Linked DNA regions of Homo sapiens: region 2 is linked to region 1. Evidence: promoter capture Hi-C in human tissues and cell types (Jung and others, 2019). All regions are on one chromosome and are shown on one strand. The core of a region is centred on a gene start or on the middle of the fragment in contact, and the rest is flanking DNA. Distances in the headings are between cores, read along the strand shown.

Evidence for each region. Contacts are between HindIII fragments. The study calls those that stand out against the background at their distance.
Region 2: a contact is called between a fragment that was not itself captured here and the fragment with the promoter of EEFSEC in region 1, in 1 of the 25 tissues and cell types used here (mesenchymal stem cells).

The regions. Positions count from the first base shown.
Region 1 is chr3:128,151,095-128,154,759 of GRCh38, forward strand. It overlaps EEFSEC (eukaryotic elongation factor, selenocysteine-tRNA specific), which reads left to right and starts at 2,387. Exons shown (of 7, transcript NM_021937.5): 1 at 2,387-2,729. The coding sequence starts at 2,414. It also overlaps a transcript of RUVBL1 not described here. RefSeq lists an enhancer at 2,018-2,247 and a silencer at 2,378-2,897. The HindIII fragment of the contact is 4,118 bases long and covers 2,000-3,665 here.
Region 2 is chr3:128,509,165-128,512,473 of GRCh38, forward strand. LOC90246 (a long non-coding RNA gene) reads left to right here. Exons shown (of 1, transcript NR_026954.1): 1 at 1-1,431. Among named protein-coding and RNA genes, the nearest start is that of GATA2, 18 kb to the left of the region's middle. The HindIII fragment of the contact is 6,617 bases long and covers 1-3,309 here.

The sequences.
Region 1 (3,665 bases), core at 1,137-3,636:
ATTCTATATATATTCTGTATATATTCTATATATATTCTATATATATTCTATATATTCTATATATATTCTATATATACTCTATATACATTCTATATATACTCTATATATTCTATATATACACTGTATATATTCTATATATATATACTCTATATATCTATATATAAAATCTATATATATTCTATATATAGATATATAAACTATATCAAGTGATCTGCCTGCCTCAGCCTCCCAAAGTGCTGGGATTACAGGCATGAACCACCGTGCCCAGCCAAACCTTTTTTCTTTTCATTACCATTTCAGGATTCTGTTTAAAACAGAGGTAAGAAATGAGGTTTATTTGAAGCCAGGCCCTGTACAAAGTCTTTGTTAGTTGAAATATTTCTCAGAGGTACATAAAGCCTCTAAAGCTCTTATTACCTATTTACTAACCCTCCCTTTTAAATACGTTTACTGCTTTTACTACTAGATTTTTTTTAATGGGAGGCGTATTTTTACAGTTTCCTATTTGCAAGGTGGGAAAACGGAAACAAAGATTCTGTTCTCTTCTTGTAAGGACCCTAATCCCATCACAAGGGCCCGCTCTCATGATCTCATCTAACCTCCCAAACGTCCCATCTCCAAATACTATCACACTGGGGGTCAGGGTGTCCACATATGAATTTGAGAGGGACACAATTCAGTCTATGACATGGACTCTGTTCCTAGTGGAGAGTGGTGGAACGAAGGAGGCAGTTACTGCAAGCATGAATACATCCGCACATGGTCTGGCTCATCACAGAGGGCAAAGGTAAGATCCTGTGAACTTTGTGCTCCACCGCCACAGTGTTACAAAAACACTCTCTTCTCCAGAAAAATGGAAGGAGGAGGCAATGTTGGGCTAGCATTCCTGCCTGGTATCACTGGCTGAGACTGAGCAGTGGCTTCCCTCTTTGCACAGGAAAAGGGCTCTCCAGGTCTCCCAGGTCCCCACCACTCCCTGTCATCTTAGACTCTTTTAACTTCTCTTCTTTGATTTACCCACCACCTGGCCAGAGCAGACACTTAGGTTTGTTACCTCTGGTTGGTGACTATGGCTGACAACCTTTTTTGTGGTTCTAGACACTTCAGAATCTAGTGAGAGTTGTCGACCCTCTGTCTAGCAAGAGCACATCACAACACATTGTGCGTTCAATTTAGAGGTTTGTGGCCTCTCCTAAGCCCAGGCTACAGACTCTCAGGGTGAGAATTTCTGAGTCAGAGATAATGTTGTCCTCTTCCATCTTCAAACCATCTTTTCCCATGGTTGGCTCCTTCTCAACACTGGAGTTTCAACTCAAACAGCAACTCCTAGATGTCTTCCCTGACCCACAGTTAGGTAGCTGTCCATCCTCCCTCTCCTGCTCCTTTTTATCTCAGCTTTTATTTTCCCTAGGAGACTTCTCGCTCTCTGAAATGGTCTGGTTCAGGCTGTATTGTTTGACTTAGCCCTCACCCCCTGAATGTAATATTAGCGGGCACTGTAGCCCAGCGGAACCCACCAGGCACTTGGTAAGATCTTGCTGAAATGTATGAATGATTGGAAGTGTGTCCGGAGTTGGTTTCTTCCAGTGGGTTCCTAGTCTCGCTGACTTCAAGAATGGAGCCGCGGACCTTCGCAGTGAGTGTTAAAGCTCTTAAAGATGGCACAGTCCCAAAGAGTGAGCAGCAGCAAGATTTATTGTGAAGAGCAAAAAGCTTCTGCAATGCGAAAGGGCACCTGAGAGGGTTGCTGCTGCTGGCGGGGGTGGCCAGCTTTTATTCCCTTATTTGCCCCCTCCCCCACGTCCCCCCGCCCTCCCCCGCCCCCCGCCGTCCCCCCGCCCTCCCCCCCGCCCCCGTCTTCCCGCCCCCCCCGCCCCCGTCTTCCCCCCGCCCACCCCGCCCCCCCCGCCCCCCTTCGCCCCCCCATGTTCCGTTTTTGTCCTATCAGAGCGCCCTTTTTTCAATCCTCCCTGTGATTGGCTTCTTTTAGGATCCTGCTGATTGGTGCATGTTACAGAGCACTGATTGGTGCGTTTTACAGAGCGCTGATTGGTGCATTTTACAATCCTCTTGATAGCTATAGAAAAGTTCTCCAAGTCTCCACTCACCCAGAAAGTCCAAATGGCTTCACTTCTCAGAAGGATCCCTCCATCTCGGGCTCCTAGAGGCTTCAGGCAGGAGGAGCCACGTGAGAGAGAAACCCTGCCTACGGTGACCTCCAGTTCCTAGACCACCCACTCGGAGCACGGCGCTCGGCTGTGCCCGTGAGCCTCAGGAGGGCGGAAGCTTCCGGGCCGGAACGGGTGTGCACAGCGCGCCGGTTACGGGGGGGCAACTTAACGGGCCGGACCGCGGCGACTACCGAGGGAGGTGAGGGGCGGGCCGGGCGGGTGTCCGAGGCGGCGGCGGCGGCATGGCAGGGCGGCGGGTGAACGTGAACGTGGGCGTGCTGGGCCACATCGACAGCGGCAAGACGGCGCTGGCGCGGGCGCTAAGCACCACAGCCTCCACCGCCGCCTTTGACAAGCAGCCGCAGAGCCGCGAGCGCGGCATCACGCTCGATCTGGGCTTCTCGTGCTTCTCGGTGCCGCTGCCCGCGCGCCTGCGGTCGTCTTTGCCCGAGTTCCAGGCAGCGCCCGAGGCCGAGCCCGAGCCCGGCGAGCCACTGCTTCAGGTCACGCTGGTCGACTGCCCCGGGCACGCCTCCCTCATCCGGACCATCATCGGCGGTGAGCGCGGGCCGGGGCGGGAGCCGGGCTCAGGGACGCGGGCGGAGCGACCGGGCCCCGTGTCCGAATTCGCTCGAGCCTTTGCCGGGACGGGAAATCGCCCCACCTCATTGGTGGGGCTCCTGACGCCCCAAGAGGCGGACGTGACTTGCCTAGGGCTCCGCAGCAAGTGAGCGGAGGCTTTGAGATTCAGCTTTTCCCATCCAGCAGAACCGAGCTGCAAGGCGCCTTCCTTAAAAAAAAAAAAAAAAAAAAATCAAAAAATCCCTACCAAATGTGTTTATAATACATGGTCAAGTAAAGAAAACTCAAAATAAGAAAACTCACAAGCTACAAAAAGGGTATACATACAAAGGCTGTCTTCATTCACCTGTCATTTGGTCTGATTCCCGTTCCTAGAGCCAACCGCTGCTACCAGTTTTTGTATATCATTTCAGAAAGGCTCCACGTCAATACAAGCATATCTGTGTGTATGTATAAATCCCTCTTTCCCTCATCCTTTTAGACACGATTTCACTCAACATTGTGTCTGGAGAGTGCCCCATATCTGTACACAAAGCTACATCATTCTTTTTAAAGCTCACATAGAATTCAACTGCACCCTTGTACCAACATTTTCTTTTTCTTTTTTTTTTTTTCTTTTTGAGACAGAGTCTTGTTCTGTCGCCCAGCCTGGAGTGCAGTGGCACGATCTCGGCTCACTGCAACTTCCGCCTCCTGGGTTCAAGCGATTGTCCTGCCTCAGTCTCCTGAGTAGCTGGGATTACAGGCGCGCGCCACCACGCCCGGCTAATTTTTTTGTATTTTCAGTAGAGACGGGTTTCACCATGTTGGTCAGGCTGGTCTCAAACTCCTGACTTCATGACCCGCCCGCCCTGGCCTCCCAAAGTCCTGGGATTACAGGCGTGAGCCACCACGTCCGGCCTGTACCAACAT
Region 2 (3,309 bases), core at 644-3,143, 360 kb after region 1:
AGAAACCCACCCCGGCCCACGCCCTTGCCTGTCCAAAATCCATGCACATGCTTCTTCCCATGCTCCCTCTGGGGGAGGTGTGCTAGGCAGCACAGATGTATGCACAGCTCCCCACAGATGCCACCCTCATCCTTGGAAACTGTCAATGCCCATGAATTTGTTACCTCACGTAGCAAAAGAGACTTTGCAGATGTAATTAAGGCTGCTCGTCAGTTGACCTTAAAATAGGGAGAGTGTCTTGGATCATCCACATGGGCTCAGTGGGTCACACAAGCCCTTAAAAGCAGAGAACTTTCCATGGCTGGTGGCAGAGGTAGAAAGGACATTGGAAAGAGACAGCATGGGGGAAAGGGAGATTTAAAGCTTGGGAAGGAAGGATGGAAAGCGCGACTGCTGCTTTGAAAACAAAGGAAGCCTCAGGCCACGTAGCAAAGAAATGGAGACCCCAGGCCTGCAATCATAAGCGACTGAATTCTGCTCACAACCCTAATGAGCACCTCCGGGAAAGAGCCCAGCCTGCCAACACCTCGATTTTGCCTTGTAAGCCCCTAAGCAGAAAATACAGTTGAGGCACTCTCTGCCCAGACTTGCAGTGCACAGAAACTGTGATGCTAAATGGATGTTGCTTGAAGCTGCTCAGTTGGTGGCACTTTGTTACAGCAGCAATGGAAAATGAATACTGGAGGTAACACTGTCTCTCCCAGTGACAGGTCCGGCTCCAGGAGCTGGACCCCAGTGACCGTGTTACAGTCTAGGCTTAAGGCCCCCCTCACTCCCAACCTCACCTGTGCAGAGAGGGAAGGAAAAGTGCCATGTCAACCCCCAGTAAGGGAAAGGAGGATGGGAGACCCCTAGCCTGCAGCACATCCAAAGCCCTGCTAGAAAAATACTGAGAAATGTTAGACATTGAGCTACCACAGGACCCAGGATTACAACTCCTGGGTATCTACCCAAGGCAAATGAAAACATGTGTCCCCAGAAAAATTTGCACACAATGTTCATAGCAGCATTATTTATAATAATTGAGAAATGGGAATAGCCCAAATGCCCATCAGCTAATGAATAGATAAACAAAATATGGCATAGCTATACAATGGAATATTATATGGCCCTAAAAAGTAATGAAGAAGCCAGACATAAAAGGCTTTGTGTGATTCCATTTCCAGACAGAAAGCAGATTAGTAGTTGCTGCAGGCTGGCGGGAGGGAGGAATGGAAAGTGGCTGCTAACAGGAACACGGTTTATTCTGGGGGCAATGAAAGTGTTCTAAACTTAGATGTGATGATGGATGTACAACTGCGTGAATATACTAAAAAGCATTGAATGGCATTGAATGGTTCATCTTAAATGGGTGAATTTTATAGTGCGTGAATTATATAGATAAAGATGTAAAAGATTTGTTTAACATCAATAAAGATGTAAAAAAAAAAATGTTGAGTTTCTTGGGCAGCCAGTTCAACTGCCCAGCCCTGCCCTCTAGGAGGAAAACGAGTACTCCCTGCCCACCCTTCACCATTCCCACATCTGAAGTGGGCATTGGGGATCTCAGTTCTCTAGTGGCCAGTTCCTAATGGTGCAGATTCTAGACTGCAGAGATTGCTTGGGCTTGGAAATAACATCACAGACTTTTTCAAAAAAATTTTTGTCTTGTTTTTGTGTTTTGTTTTGCTTTTTGTTTGCTTGTTTGTTTGTTTTTACCAGACTTGAAGTTTTGGGGCAGTACAACTCCATCAAAAAAATTTTGACCTCAAGTGATCTGCCCATTTCAGCCTCCCAAAGTGCTGGGATTACAGGCATGAACCACCGCACCCAGCCTCCATCAAAAATGTATTAGGCATTTCCCTGTCTTTATTTTTAAATATATATATATTGTAGTCTGGGCATGGTGGTTCACACCTGTAATCCTAGCACTTTGGGAGGCTGAAGAGGGAGGCTTGCTTGAGCCCAGGAGTTCAAGACCAGCCTGGGCAACATAGCAAGAGCTCTTCTCTACTAAAAATAAAAATTAAAAAAAATTAGCCAGGCTATGTGGTACATGCCTGTAGTCCTAGCTACTCAGGAGGCTGAGGCAGGAGGATTGCTTGAGCCCAAGAGTTCAAGATTGCAGTGAGCTATGAGTACACCACTGCACTCCAGTCTGGGCAACAGAGCCAAACACTGTCTCAAAAAAAAATTACATATATATATATATATATATATATATATATAGAGAGAGAGAGAGAGAGAGAGAGAGAGAGATGTGTGTGTATATACATATATATACTTCAGGCACACAAAAAATTAGATCGAATAATATAAAAAACACCTATATACCCAACACCTAGCTTATATATTAAGTATTAAAATGTCACCAATACAGTTGAAGCAGGAATACAGTTGAAATTGAAAATGTAGTTAAAATACAATTATAGTTGTAGTTGAAATGTACTACATGCTAGATAGAATGTACAACTTTCTTATGACTTTGGGGTGGGAGGTGATTTTCTGAGCATTGCACAGAAAGCAGAAGCTGTAAAAAGTGAATGCTTCCTTGGATTCCTTGGACTATATAAAAATTTCAACTTCTGCCTGGTGAAGATACTGTAAACAAGTTTAAAAGATAAACAAATAGATCGAGAGAATATTTGCAATGTATACAGTGAATCAATATCTACAATATGCAAAGTGTTCCCAAAAAAAATAAGAAAAAGAAAAAAAAACCAGTAGCAAAATAGGCAATTCACACAGGAAGAAATATAGTGGTCAATTAAGTTATGAAAAGTATGCCCTTATTCATAATCAAATAAATGAAAACTTAAAACAATGATGAGATACCATTTTTCAGTTAGCAGACTGGCAAAAAAAAAATTCATGCAAATAACAAGAGCAATAATATCCATCCAACGGCAAGCCTACAGGAAAGTAAGCATTCTTCTACACTATTGGCAGGAATATAAATTGAAGCAACCTTTTTGGGAGAGCAATTGCCTGGAATCTATGTTAATGTAAATTGTACATACCCACAATCACACCCTTAGTAATACAGTGTTCAGAAATACTAGCACTTAAGAAAATAAATGAAAAAACAATAAAAGCATTAGAAACATCTTTTTTTTTTTTTTTTTTTTTTGAGATGGAGTCTCACTCTGTCGCCCAGGCTGGAGTGCAGTGGTGCGATCTCGGCTCACTGCAACCTCCGCCTCCCAGGTTCATGCCATTCTCCTGCCTCAGCCTTCCGAGTAGCTGGGACTACAGGTACCCACCACCACGCCTGGCTAATTTGTTATATTTTTAGTAGAGACAGGGTTTCACCGTGTTAGACAGGATGGT